2 separate regions of the Homo sapiens genome follow, and region 1 is linked to region 2. Evidence: promoter capture Hi-C in human tissues and cell types (Jung and others, 2019). All regions are on one chromosome and are shown on one strand. Each heading gives the region's core, a stretch centred on a gene start or on the middle of the fragment in contact. The rest is flanking DNA. Distances are from core to core; before and after follow the strand shown.

Region 1 (7,519 bases), core at 1,441-3,940, 490 kb after region 2:
TGCAACCTCTGCCTCCCGGGTTCAGACGATTCTCCTGCCTCAGGCTCCTGAGTAGCTGGGATTACAGGTGCACGCCACCATGCCCAGCTAATTTTTGTATTTTTAGTAGAGACAGGGTTTCACCATGTTGGTCAGGCTGGTCTCAAACTCCTGACCTCGTGATCCACCCGTCTCGGCCTCCCAAAGTGCTGGGATTACAGGCGTGAGCCATGGCACCCAGCCTCTAGTTTTTTTTTTTTTTTTTTTTTTTTTACAAGAACATTTGGATGTTTCTGGAGAAAAAAATTTATAGAAAACAAAGGCATGATTAGCATTAATGTCAACATCAATTTTGGCTAATATTTAGGCCAAGATTTTATGTGAACCAATTTATTCTGTCTACCTAAATCCCACTGTATTAACAGCAGTGTCACATCATGGCTATCACCATCAACGAAGGGTGCTGTGCCTTGTTTAAACTACCTTCAGTTATTATTTCATCTTACTTGTCGTTGAAAGTGTTGTATTGAGAGTCATAAATTGTACAACAAAATAGTAAAATTGGTAAAGCTGTTAGCTATTCTTCTTGGTTAAGTATTCTGCCAAATAGAAATGCCAGACCATTAGCACAACTAACAGTTTGTAGGAGTGAGCCCAGGCCTTCCAAGGCATTCAGCCAGCATGGCAGAAGCACGGGGTCTGAGTTTCTCTCCAAACCCCCTACACAATATATTTGGCACTTTCTATAATTTGTCACCTGGGGCAATCATGGTGACTTTCTCTGTCCATTAGCAGAACAAATAATGAATCTGAAAATACAGGATGGATGTGGTACAGTGTATATCAAGTGATCAGCAGCTTTTTTGCTGCCAAGTCCTTGGAGAAGAATCATATCATATAGTTTTAATACCTTGATCTTGTTTTTCTGTTTATTAGATCTCAGTTGGATGTAAGGTGTCTGAAAAAATTGCCCAGAATCAAATTCATGTGCAGTATTCTACTGACTTCGGTGTGAGTTGGAATTATCTGGTCCCTCAGTGCTTGCCTGCTGACCCAAAATGCTCTGGAAGTGTTTCTCAGCCATCTGTATTCTTTCCAACTAAAGGGTGGAAAAGGATCACCTACCCACTTCCTGAAAGCTTAGTGGGAAAGTAAGTAGAAAACTAAAACAAAGCCTGGTTCCAAGCATCCAGAAGGTACACCATTAGGTACACTGTTGTCATGCCTGAAATTATGTGTATTTGTGGGTAAAGTGCTTTCTTTCTCCCTAACTCTAAAGGTTCTCTAATTGGTTACTTTCATCATAACTTCCATGATGAGCTAACTTCAGACCTCAATTTGTAATCCTCAGACTTGGCAATATGGGCTTTTGCAGACTCTTATTTTCTAAACCTCAGTATCTTAAAATGGGAACAGAGCAATAGTGATGGCCTTGGAGCCAGATGAAAAGGTGTACCCTACCTTCTCAACCTTGTAGACTGTGGACCTCTGTGCACTATATACTTTCCACATTATTGCCTTATCAATCCATGATAGACAGAGCCAGGAGCAAATCCTAACTCATCATGCTATTTCTACCACTGTGACTTATGGGATCCATTTTTCTCTTATCAAAGCATTGTATTCTGATCCTGCAGTGAGAGGTAATTAGCCTGGACCAGTGATGAGCAGAGGTGATTAAACCTTGCTCTGCAAAGTCTGTGGATATATTAATTTAAGGCAATTCCAAAAGATTTCTCTTCTACTTTAAAAGTAAAGATACACAAAAGAAAATAACAGGTGCACCTAGACTGTATTAATCAGATAGTCTGACTAAACAAATCTTGTGAAACATAAAGAGTCTTTGAATAAAGTGCTTACGCACAGTTCCCAGTGTCCCATAGATATTATTATTATTATTATTACCACTCAGGGTTTTCTGGAATGTATCTAAAGAGCTTATTCAATTAACATACTAAGGAATTAAATCAGGATGCTTTCAGCTGCAAGGAACAGAAAACCCAATTCAAACCAGCTCGAAATTTGTTATATCTATAATGAACGAATCCAAAGATAAGTGAACTCTAGGGCTGGTTGATTTGTAAGTTGAACGGTGTCTTCAGGGACAGCGTTCCTCCTTATCCTCTTAAGAGAATATCTGCTGTCCACGGCACTGGCGGCATACTCAGCTCTCTCAGGCTGGTTTTGCTATTGAACATGAGATGGCAGCCAGAGAACTGGGGCAGGATGCTTCCGTACTTACGTCCAGTGAGAAAGAAAGATAGTTGCTTTTGTTCCAAGACAGCCAGAACAAGCGCCACCTTGCATCCCACTGGTACCAATTAGCCACTCAATAGTTGAGTTAGGAAATGATTATTTCATGGATTATCTGGGGTGAAATGGATGCTGGGGACCCACCATGATGTCTATCACAGACTCATTTTCTCCTCCCATTCTCTTTTTGTAATAATGAGGTATAATTTACATTCAGTAAAATACATACATCTTAATTGTTCAGATCAATGAGTTTTTAGTTGTGTAACCCATGTAACCACCACATAAAACAAGATACAGAACATTTATATCACCCCAGAAAGTTCCTTCATGTACTTTGGATTCTTTAAACCAAAATAGTATGGCATATTTTAATATAAGGATAATTATGAGGCTTGTTTTTTCCCCCAGAAGACAGAGAAGAACAAAGATGAAATTAAAATCTCAAAGAAAATGTCCTTTAATATAACCCTTTCAAAATTGTTTTCTAATTAGCATAGTTACTCTGAGAATATTGATTGTCTTCAGGGAATTCAGAAAATGCTGCCTCCCGACCGCCTGAGGGCTGTGTGTATGCTGACAAGGCTCTTGTCAAAGGCGTCACTCACCTTCTGTACAATTTCAGAAATGCAATTAGTGAATCTAAATTGCATCATGACCACGGAACTCCAATTCAGAAGAAACCTGATTTATGAAAGTTACAGATTTGTGTATTTAAATATTTCTATTTATTTCTTGACACAGAGATTCCACTGATTTAATTTTGTTGTGCAAGTGTGCTCAGATATTCTGAAATTTCAATAAAACCAGCTTGAAAGTTCCATTACTAGAAAGATAAGAGTGGTCAGAAAACATTTTTTATTAACCTATTTCATCTAGTAAGAGTATCTTAAATGTTTTTTCTCTTGAGTACTGAATACACATGCAGGACAATGGACCTAAATACAGTTAACTTTTGTTTTTCACTCCTTTGCTTTTGCATTGTCAATAGTCCGGTAAGGTTTAGGTTCTATCAGAAGTACTCAGACATGCAGTGGGCAATCGATAATTTCTACCTGGGCCCTGGATGCTTGGACAACTGCAGGGGCCATGGAGATTGCTTAAGGGAACAGTGCATCTGTGATCCGGGATACTCAGGGCCAAACTGCTACTTGACCCACACTCTGAAGGTAAGGGTAAAGCCCTGGACAAGACGCATTACTCACATCATGGGTCATGCCTAGGAACCAACTTATGTATGAGACATAATCTATAACAATGTCCTTTGGGTCCCCCAGGAAAGAAAATCCTTTGAATAGAAACTTTAAAAATGTCTTATGTTTCCTAAGTACAAGAATATTAGGATCAAGTTCTAGTACAGTTTATCCAGTTCATAAAATGAGCCAGACTATATGGATTACAAATGATAAATACTCTGGGTTTCTTTTTTTTTTCTTAAGCAGACTATTTTTAAAGTCAATATTAAGCCTTTTTTACTTCACTTTTTCAATTGATGCACTATTTGAAGGAAGATATTATTGTTATTATTGTTATGAAATAAAGCAAATAATATACATTATCACAAAAGACCAAATTTTCAAAAAGGCCTAAACAGTACCTGAATTTTTGTTTAGAAAATTCTGTGTTCTGATTCGTTGACTGCTGAAATGGGGTTGTGTATTAAGAATGGAGAGGTCACTTTTGAAAGCTTTAGCTGTTACATCATTATTTAATATGCAAAGCAAATACAGTTACCCAACACAGTTGCCACATATGCACTCTATTTCTGTGAATAAACATAGTGCATTTGTCATTACAATAACAGAAAAATGACTAGGCTAAAAAAAGCAAAATTCCTAGTGATTGAAATCCAACATATGAGAGTCAACAATGTAAATCAAACCTGTTCTGTCATTTGTGTTTGTTCTAATACTTCAACTATGGAATTGAACATTTTTTAAATAAAATTGGAACAATGCTCATTTGTGTCTGAAGATGTAAGTACATTATTAACAAATGAGGTTACCACATGAAAAACAAAGCTTTATATACCACAGGTAATTAATAAACTTTTGAAAATCTAATTTCTTTCATGAGCACTCAAATTTTATTAGTATTCCTCAGTTGGATAAGAAATTGTACAAATCTATAAATTATAAACCCTGATTAAAATCTTCTAATGAAAGTTTACGTGGTTAACCATGCATTTCTTCTAACACTTGTCTTCTTACAAGCTTTCAATTATAAAACGTATTCATTTGCTATCCATTAGTGAGACTAAGGCAGACTGACATTTGACTGTATGTCTTTAACTATAGAATTGATTATCTTCTAAGTTTGAGAAAAAGAAACTGTTTAAATCATTTTAACTACACAGTAAGATAGAACTCTCCTTAAATGAAAAAATATAGGTTTTTCTGTATACAGTTATTGCATTGCAACTAGAACAAATTGGCTTTATGATATCTTTTCATCATTTTAAACAAGAAATGTGTCTCTACCTAATACAAATCTGCATTATGGATAAAATGAAAGTACTGTAGACAGAATGAATAGGGAAATTAAGACCTTGACTATGAGGAGATAAGCAAATTTTACAAAAAAATGTAGCCAAGAACCTTTATACTTTGTACACTCTCTGAAAAATAGATTTTCTGGTTGTCAATCATTCTTAGTTAAAAGGATAAACTGGAGACTCAGGGGAAAATATTGTATTCTAGATTTTGAGTACTTATCACCCTGCAACTTGGCCTGATAAACAGGTGAAACATCTTTCAAACTGCCTTCAAAGGTTTACTTTCTTTTGACTTATATAGAGAGATTTGGTTTCAAGTGTCCCTGCCTAACCATGTAGACCTTCAAGGTTCATTCTGTGCTAGAGGCTGAAGGATCCTGGCTGCCTGAAGCAGTCTCCAAAGTGAGGGCACACACACCAGGACAATCCATTGGGGAATGTCAGGGGGAAAGTGCTGGATTGCATGTTTATATTTTATCTTATTGCTTTCAAATTCCTTTTGGCATGTTTCATAATATAATACATTACAATAATACTTTTATATACTATATAAACAAATATACATGTTTGGGGGTATATGCTTAAATAACTAACTAACTTTTTACAAATAGAAGTGTTACTATAATATGGCCAGGCATGGTGGCTCACACCTGTAATTCCAGCACTCTGGGAGGCGGAGGTGGGCAGATCACTTGAGGTCAGGGATTCGAGACCAGCCTAGCCAACATGGTGAAACCCCATCTCTATGAAAAATACAAAAAATAGCCAGGTGTGGTGGCACACACCTGTAATCCCAGCTACTCAGGAGGCAGAGGCATGAGAATTGCTTGAACCCGGGAGGCAGAGGCTGCAGTTAGTTGAGATTGTGCCACTGTACTCCAGCCCAAGTGACAGAGCAAGACTTCGTCTCAAAAAAAAAAATTGATATAGTCAACTTTACAATTATTTTAAATTTCAATTATTAAACATTATTTGAGCAGTTTAAATGATTTTCAATATACGACAGGAAAAAAGATTGTGGAAATAGCCTTTTTTAAACATCTTTGAAAAGCATTTGAAATCAGCTCTATTTTTTTTAAGTCCAAGACATCACTCTGTATTTTCTTAAATATTCCATAGTTATCTGAAATTGTTTTTTTAACCACATCTGGCTTATTTTATTTCCAGACTTTCCTGAAGGAACGCTTTGACAGTGAAGAAATCAAACCTGACTTATGGATGTCCTTAGAAGGTGGAAGTACTTGCACTGAGTGTGGAATTCTTGCCGAGGACACTGCACTCTATTTTGGGGGATCCACTGTGAGACAAGCGGTTACACAAGATTTGGATCTTCGAGGTGCAAAGTAAGTGAATTTTTTGTTAGTTATTTCTATTGCACCATAGCAAATTGGTCCCAAAGCAAGGAACACTTGTATGGAAGAAATTATCCAGGACTTGAGTAGAGTATTTGTTCTAATGAATTATTCTGATGGATAAAATGTGCTTGCATTCAGGTTCCTGCAATACTGGGGGCGCATCGGTAGTGAGAACAACATGACCTCTTGCCATCGTCCCATCTGCCGGAAGGAAGGCGTGCTGTTGGACTACTCTACCGATGGAGGCATGTGTCAGGGGTGAAAACCACCCCTTGGAGCAGATTCCCAAATTCCATCCAACACCCTCAGAAAAGTCTCTGCAAAGCTTTGCTGACTTCACAGTTTGAATTGTGAAACTCACAAAGAAAAAGCTACAGATTTTGTTTGTATTACATGTTCCGTACAAGTGACTTCTGTGTTATGCAAAAAGGGAAGGAGAGAAATCACATTAAAAATAAAGTCCAAACTTTATGAATAAAGAAAACAACCTCTACGCTTTACTGAAGCTTGAGTGATACAATTAAGAAATACATTTTGTATGATTTCCAAGTAAAAGATCATTTTTAAAACTTTAAAGCATTTTTAACAGCTTATGTGTAAATAAGCATGTAATAAATGCTATAATCTATGGAAATCTTCTAAAATTGTGAAAAAAAAGTCTGATTTTGTGAGTTTGTCATAGAATATTTTAATAGAATTCTGTTTTGTTATTCTGAAGTAGCTAAAACCAGACCAGTAATACCATGGTGTCTTTAGAAAAATCTGCTTTAGCAGATAGATATCATTCTTAATAACTAGCTGATTAACAGATGACCCTAAAGTATTTTAAGGTATTTGAAGGATGTTTTCTTAAGTAATTAAACATCCCACCTGCAATCTTATCAAGCAAGAAGAGATAAACTTTATACCAGTCCAAATAATTAAATTGCATAAAATTACAATAACTATTTTAATACTGAAAGCTATTGCCTAGAAACATGTAAAACATGGGTGTATCTCATTATTTGTGAGAAATAAGAATTTAGAACTAAATTTTAAAAGCAAAACATAACTTATTTTTACTTCAGTGTTTTTATTTTGGCCAACTCTTTCGAAATATCCTTCCCCTCATATCATTAGCCTCATACAGAAACAGTATAAGTAGTGAATACCTAATATCAAAGTCAGGAAAATCAGTTGTCATTTCCTGGCTGAAAATTTCTTTGGGAAGTTCACAGTATCTGAAGTATACTGGTGGTTTATGAGGAGGCAGGAGATTCTAGATATATTGCTATGTTGGTATATTTGTTATTATAGGAATTACCTGGACTTTGCTCCATGAGATGGATTACCAGAAATACATTTCTGTTAGACACGACTACATACTTCTTCCTGAAGATGCCCTCACCAACACAACTCGACTTCGCTGGTGGCAGCCTTTTGTGATCAGCAATGGAAT
Region 2 (7,677 bases), core at 5,014-7,513:
TAGCAACTGGAATAATTCTTATAACCATGATATTGAGCCAAAGAAACCAGATATAAAATCACATATATTGTATGATTCCACTTACATAAAGTTTGGAAACAGGCAAAAATAACCATCCTGAAGACATGTTATGTTTCTCCTTGAAACTTTCTCCATGCCTTGAGGAATATGATTGCTCAATCAAAGTGGTCATGGAGACTTCTGTTTATATTCTTTGGACACTGCTTACATGAGGTGTTCCATTTTTGACACTGCATTGCACACTACACTTATTATTTGTTCATGGTTTTGTGCCTATTACTATACTTCATTAAAAAGTTTACTTAATAAAAAATACTTTTTATCTAATAGTTTATCTAACAGTTTATCTAACAGCAACAATTACCAAGCTGCGAAAGCCTGAAAGTTGTGCATCCTCTTCAACACATCTCTCTCCCTTTATCCCTATGCCCAGTCAGTCACTCTATCTGTTACTCAATCCTGTAGTTCTGGCTCCTCAATACGTCTCAGTTCTACTCTCTTCTCTCCATCTCCTTTGAAGACCATCACCTCTCACCTGAGATACTTGCTCTACATCCTAATTCTCTCCCTGAATCTACTTTTCATGGCTCTCCAATCCACTCTCCCCTTGATCTTCCAAACGTACAAATAGGACCATGGTATGTCTCTGCTTAAAATCCCTTCCATGCTTCACCATTGTTTTCAGGAATAAGAAAAAAGAAAAGAAAATCTTCACTGTAGCACTGTCCATGCTAGTGCCTAGTGAATGTACTTGCTTTACTGTAATACTGTGCTGTAGACAATAACATTAAAATATTGTGTTGGATATTATTTAAACCCTGGAGAAAAAGTATTAGAAAATGTTTCTTCAACTTATTTTGGCATTCTTCAACTCTTTCCTTTAATTATTCATTCAGATCATGTTACTTCCTGACCCAAGTCTCCCCAGCACATTAATGTGATCTAGTCTCTGCCTGCTTCTCTGACCTCATCTCGTACCCATACCACTCTTTCCTTTTCTTTCATTTTACTTACTTTATGACGATGGTGATTTTTTAGAGACAGGGTCTCACTCTGTTGCCCAGGCTGGAATACAGTGATGCAATCATAGTTCACTGCAACCTTGAACTCCTGGGCTCAGGCAATCCTCCTACTTCAGCCTCCCAAGTAGCTGGGACTACAAGCATGCACCCCCATGCCTGGCTAATTTTAAAATCTTTTGTAGAAATAGGGTCTCGCTATGTTTCTCAGGCCAGCCTCAGACTCCTGGCCTCAAGTGATCCTCCTGCCTCAGCCTCCCAAAGTGCTGGGATTACAGGCATGAGCCACTGTGCCCAGCCTCACTCTTCCCTTTTCTTGCTATCTTTCCTAAGCCTTGGACATCTCAAGCATAGCCCTGCTTCAGGGCCTTTATATTATCTGATCTCTCCAGCTGAACTGCTCTTTCCCCCACATGTTAACATGATGGACTCTTCCGTATTAATGAAGTGTTAGCTCCAATTACACTCTTTCAGAGAAGCTTTCCCTGACTCTCCAATCTACAGTAGCCTCCCTGCCCTAGACACTCTCTACCACATCATCTGGTTTTATTTCTTCATAGCATTTACCAGTGTCAGAAATAATCTTGTTTATTGTATGAGTTTACTGTCTGTCCCCAGCACTAGATTGTAGATGCCAAACGGGTGGGCACTGTATTAGCTTTATTCACTGAGTCCACTGCATCCAGCAGTTTGGCACATAGGAGGTGTCTGATAAATACTGATTGAATGAATGTGTTGGTGACTGGGCATTCATTCACATTTTCAATGTAGAACAGTGCTGTCTAATAGGACTTTCTGCAGTAATGGGATAATCTGTAAGTCTGCACTTACTGTCCAGTACAGACAGTGCAGCCTTACAGATTATCCCATTACTAGCCACCCTTAGCTATTGGATACTGGAAATGTGGTTAATGTGACTGAAGAACTTATTTTTAAATTTAATTTGATTTGAATTTAAATAGCTACCTGGGGACTAGGACACTATATCGGATAGTGCTGGTCTAGAGGACATAATTTAGGATGAGGGATCAGGAAAGATCTCTCAGATGCAAAAATGTGTGAGAGAAGACTTGGAGCATGAGTTGCTATAGCCAAGTAAGAAGTGAGGTGAGGGAGAGGAGGGTGGAAGATGTGTGGTTAGGCCACAGGAAACAGGAAGGGCATTCCAGAGAGAAGCAGGGGCAGGGAAAATCCCAGGAAGTGGAGAAACTTTAAAAAAAGGGATTTTTAGTGTTGAGGAATCAGATTCTGTTTCAGAAATCTTACAATATAATGACTTTGTGTTGTCCCATAGTTTATCTCATCATGGTATTTCAATCTGGGGTGGCAATAAGTAACATGTTCCGGCAGGACGTACGTAACAGAGCCAACTCCCTAATATCCCACCTTTCTCAGTGCAATTTCATTTGCAAAAGGCTTACTGATCTTTAGGGTCTATTTTTGTGTGTTTTTTTTTTTGATTTTTGTTTTTTGCTTAGGAGCCTCAATTTTATCATACAGTACCATGTCTTATGAGTAATAGATTTTATAAGTTTATTAGCTGCTATTGGGTTTGCTCTCATGTGGCCTTTTATTACCATTTTAGAGTCTAATAAGTCAACTGATTTCAGTTTGTTCACCCTCTTCATATTTATATTTACATATTTTTTGATTTTATAAACTTTGTTTGATTTTTACATGGTAAATAAGAATAGTGACTCACTTTCCCACATATACCAAAATGTTTAATGCTTCATCTCAAAAAATATCAATGGAAGGCAGATGAGTGAATTCTTGCAACCTTAAAATATAATTTAATGTCTTCTTTGTATTTCATATGGATGAATCACCTCCCAATAATTTAAAAGCTATGTATCTGATATATGTATATATATACATGTATATATAGAGAGATATAGCAGATATATATATATATATATATACACACACATAGCAAATATATATATATATATGAATTTAATTCCCATCGTGTTATGATTATTCAAATACTGGGCAATAATTTCCACTTATCAAGAAGAAGTGGATTTATCTTCTAAGAATACTTAGTTTAATTCTTTTGGTAGACTAATTACTATTTCAAAACTCTTTTAATTAAAAATAAATCTCATTCCATTTTAAACTCCCTTTCCCACAAGCCTATTCATTTTCACCTGACATCACCTTTTATTTTTTGCAGATGTTTTTGATGTAAACCATTTTTTCTGGAAAAGCACTTCTCTATTTTTCTATTAGTTCGGAAGGTTTTTGGATTTTGCAGACCCAATATTCTTGGAGATACTTATTATGGCTCACTAAATAGAAACGAGGTGTAAGGGTTAGCACACGAATTGGGAAACAGGAAGTTTTGCTATCTAACCTGGGTTTCCACCTTATTGCGTGATTTCAAGTAAGTTGCTCACTAAGAAGATGCTACTCTCGGTTCAATGGATTTTATATATGATTTATGTATTTTTCTGATTTTCTAAAGGTTATTTAAAAGTTTTTAATGACTAGTTGAACTGGCCTAATCAAAAAAAGTGTCAGAGATGAAACAAATATGAACTTGAGCCTCTACAAGGTATTCATGTTAGTTCTAAGGACTGCAGACTGGAGTGTACCAACTTTTACTCCCCTCTTGACCAGCTCAACACCACTCAGGACATTATTTAAAAACAGTCTTTGTGTCTGTTACTGAACAACTGCAGGGCTGTAGCCAGAAATATGAGCTTGCTTCATGGCTAACAGTATAAAAGTTATTCAAATGTAATAGCAAAGCAAAGTGGTAAAAATTAAGGAAGCACAATAAAGGGGAAGATTGAAAAATAAACTTGGTCACATAAATTGAATGTTAAGAAAGCCATGTCGAGAGATACGAGAAAGAATATTTCTCTGAGAGTGCACTACACAATGGAAAGAAGGGGACTTCCTGGGAATTGAGGACCTTATATGAATTAAATTCCAATCATGTCCTGGACCAAGTGTCAGCGCTTACTAAAGACAGTTTATTTAAGCAGCGACCTTGGCATCAAGCATGGCCAGACTTGATCCCAAGCTCCTTTAACTTCTATGAATCTCAACTTTCTTCTCTTTAAAAATGAAGATAATTATACCTACTTTGCAGGCTAATATAAGGATTAAATGAGGTATTCTGACACTGGATGAAGAATAATTATTCCCCCATCCCTCTAACAACACCAACATGCATTCTTTAGAGGCGATTTGCAGTGGTTAGTGTGTCAAAATCAGACTGCCTGGGTTCAAGTCACAGCACTCACTAGCTGTGTGACCTTGGACAAGTTACTTAACCTCCCTGTGCTGTTTCATCATAGTAAAATGAAGCTATCAATGGTACTTTTCCCACAGTATTGTTATGAGGAATAAGGGAGTTAGTATGTATAGTACTTAGGACGGTGCTCAGTGCATAGTAACTAAACATTTTAAAAGTGTAAGCCAAAAACATTAAATAGTTTTGGATTCTTTCTACAAGTGATTAATTTTGTCTTTGGCTATATTCACATGACTGGACAGGAAGGCAGTAACAGCCTTGTTAGCTGTGGGCGAGTATCTCCTAATTCTGTTTGGGGCAACACCACCTGCTCCAGCTAGGGCTGTCGACTGTGGCAGGGCAGTGCAGGACAAGAGCCTCTGAGGCCAGCCAGTCTGCCCTGCATCCAGCCTTTGTCACTGACTTTGGGCAAGTTATCAACATTTCTGAGTGCCTCCTCCCTTGTGAAATAGGGATATTTTTTGCCTCTCCAGTTGGTGTTAGGATTAAAAAGCTAAAGTACGTCTAGCCCCACAGCCTGCACCCCGCAGAGCTACAGTGTAGCAATTGTTACCACATCATATATATATATATGCACATACATATATGTATACACTGTATATTATTTATATGGCAGTTAAGCCTCTGGGGATTTTGAAGTAAGGGAAACAAGAAGCCAGCTAGAAATGGGCCCTTTCTACCTGTCATTCGGTCTCAGTAAGAGGAAGAAAAACAATTTCTTCCTTTTGCAACGAAGTGATTACAGAGGTCTCCCCTTGGACCCTGATTTTCACCGCCCCTCGCCCCACAAATGCAGGCAAAGGCACTATCCCTTCCAATTTTATAATCTACTCATTTCTGTACGTGCGGGTTTATCTGGCTTGGTGGCAAGCCAAGGGTGGGTGGGGAGAGGCATTAAAACCTGGCAACCCCGCTCCCCCATCTCCGGATGCCGCAGGGCTCCTGCCAGCCGTCCTCGGTTAAAAACGTGCTTATGGATTATTTCACTTCCCTGCAGTTCATGTGCAGCCGCTCATTACCACCCGCTTCAATCACCGCTGCCAGCATCTCCCCTGAACGTTTTTCCCTCCCCCGATTTCAGGGCCATTGGTCATAACCGACATTTAAAGGAAATAAACACTGATTTAAAAAATTACAACACCCATCTCTGCCTGAAGAGCCCAGAAGCAATGAATAACAGAACAGTCCGGCGAAGAGAGCCTGTCGGATCTTAGCTCCGCCAGCCCTTCCTGCCTTACAATTCCCCACAACCGAGCAGCACAAATCACCATTTCCAGGCACCACTCGAGTCTGCCAATTCCACTTTCGCTTAATCTCATTTTAAAATCCTCTACAGATGAGGCTCTGTCGCTGCCGCGAGGGGCCGGGCGGCCGCGGCGGGAGGGACAGGGGGCCTGGGTGGGAAGGGAGCGCGAGGGCCCCTAGCGGTTCGCGGCCTCGGGCGGATTCCCAGAACGAGTGCGGGCCGCCCGGACTGGCAGACTGCGAGCCCCGAGGGGCGCGGGACGCAGCCGGCTCAGACAAAGAAACCGGCGCCAGCGGCCGTCCCTGCCGCCCCTCTCCTTCCCTCACGCATCCTCCCAGGAAAAACAGGGCACACTGACGGCCAAAGGGGCTGGCCTTCCCCTTCAGACAGCTGGACGGGAGGTGCCCTCTGCGGGGCTTTGACGTCCCTCGCAGAAGAGTCGCGGGCTCAGCGGTCCTCGACAGCGTCCCCGTCCCGCTCCCCGGCGGGCGCCCCTCCCTGTCCTCCCGGGTGCGAACCGGGCGCTGGCCGGGGACTCCGGGGACGCGTGCGCCCCTCGCCGCGCGAGGTGCCGCCGAGCCAGCCCGAGAGGGCGGGGGGCGGGCGGGGCGGCGCGCGGGGGCGGGGGAGCGGCCGGGACACGTGTGGCGGCGGCGGGGGGGACGCGGCGCCCGGGGCTTTAAGAAGGTGTGGAGCGGGGCGGGCGCTTTCCCAGGCCTGGCCGAGGGGCGTCGCGCAGAGGCGGCGGCGGCGCACGGAGGCGGCAGACGACGCGCTCTCGGCGCCCGCAGCCCCGGTCCCGCGCTCCCGCGGCCCAAAGTAACTTTGGGAGCCGCCGTCTCCCGCGGAACTTCTCGGCGGGGGCCCGCTCCCAGGCCCGCTCCCGAGCCCGTTCCGCTCCCGTCCGCCTTCTTCTCGCCTTCTCTCCGCGTGGCTCCTCCGTCCCGGCGTCTCCAAAACTGAATGAGCGAGCGGCGCGTAGGGCGCGCGGCGGCGGCGGCGGCGGCGGCGGCATGGAGCGCAGTGGCTGGGCCCGGCAGACTTTCCTCCTAGCGCTGTTGCTGGGGGCGACGCTGAGGGCGCGCGCGGCGGCTGGCTATTACCCCCGCTTTTCGCCCTTCTTTTTCCTGTGCACCCACCACGGGGAGCTGGAAGGGGATGGGGAGCAGGGCGAGGTGCTCATTTCCCTGCATATTGCGGGCAACCCCACCTACTACGTTCCGGGACAAGAATACCATGGTAGGTACCGCAGCACCTCCGCGCTCGCCGCCGCCGGGTGCGCCCGCCAGCGCACCTTTCTCATCCCTTTCCTTCTTCCAAGGGGCCTTGGAAACAAGAACCATGACAACCCTGGCCCCAGCGATGCGCTTGGTCCAGGGAGCGAGAATAAAGTTAGTGGAGAATGGAGTCACAAGTTGGGATTCATTCTCCATGTCCCCACTCCCCGAACGCATCTCCTGGTAATGAGCTGGTGCTTGTGCTAAACGCCTGAGAATTCTTGGAGGCCGGTGTCTTTCCCCCTCACTCCCCGTACTTACCGCAGGCACTTTAAATTGAACCTGCGCATTTTGTTTCTTTACTCCTAGGACTTGGATTTCAGACCTTTGTCCTGCTCCCGGTCCCCCCAGATGGGTCCCCGGGGGGGCGTTGGGGGCTGTCGCTGGGCTTTGCGGGCAGGCTGGTGACAGATTGAAGCGCCCAGGTCTGTGGCTGCCCCGCGCCGCTCGACCGCAAAGTTCCCGCTGCTCACCAGCCAGGAGTCCCTGGCATTTCATTCAGTGTCATACAGCCCTCCTGAAAGGGAGCGGCTGCTTCCAGCTCCCTATTCTTTTGAAAGTGTGATTTAATATGTCAGTAATTGATGATTTTTCTGATTCCTGCCTTACTTTTACATGGTGCTTCTTGTTAGAATTATCTTTGTGATGTTTATTAATGACTTTGTATTTTATCTGCACAGCTTTAATTTCCAGGTAGAGGCTGGAATCCCTTATAATTTAGAGGTATCTTAAAAATGGAATCATTATGCAGCCCTGCATCAAAAATAAACATTACAGAAGAAATAAAATTTAGCTCCAAGAAATATAATATTATGTAGTACATGTATTTTAAGCTAGTACATCGAGTAT

The links. Contacts are between HindIII fragments. The study calls those that stand out against the background at their distance.
Region 1: a contact is called between a fragment that was not itself captured here and the fragment with the promoter of RELN in region 2, in 3 of the 25 tissues and cell types used here (H1 embryonic stem cells, IMR-90 fibroblasts and lymphoblastoid cells).

What each region holds. Positions count from the first base shown.
Region 1 is chr7:103,496,627-103,504,145 of GRCh38, reverse strand. RELN (reelin) reads left to right here. Exons shown (of 65, transcript NM_005045.4): 52 at 916-1,130; 53 at 3,224-3,401; 54 at 5,894-6,069; 55 at 6,220-6,326; 56 at 7,378-7,519. The region is part of intron 2 of SLC26A5-AS1 (SLC26A5 antisense RNA 1); the gene reads right to left. Among named protein-coding and RNA genes, the nearest start is that of SLC26A5, 54 kb to the right of the region's middle. The HindIII fragment of the contact is 5,472 bases long and covers 1-5,426 here.
Region 2 is chr7:103,988,244-103,995,920 of GRCh38, reverse strand. It overlaps RELN (reelin), which reads left to right and starts at 6,263. Exons shown (of 65, transcript NM_005045.4): 1 at 6,263-6,790. The coding sequence starts at 6,565. The HindIII fragment of the contact is 8,012 bases long and covers 563-7,677 here.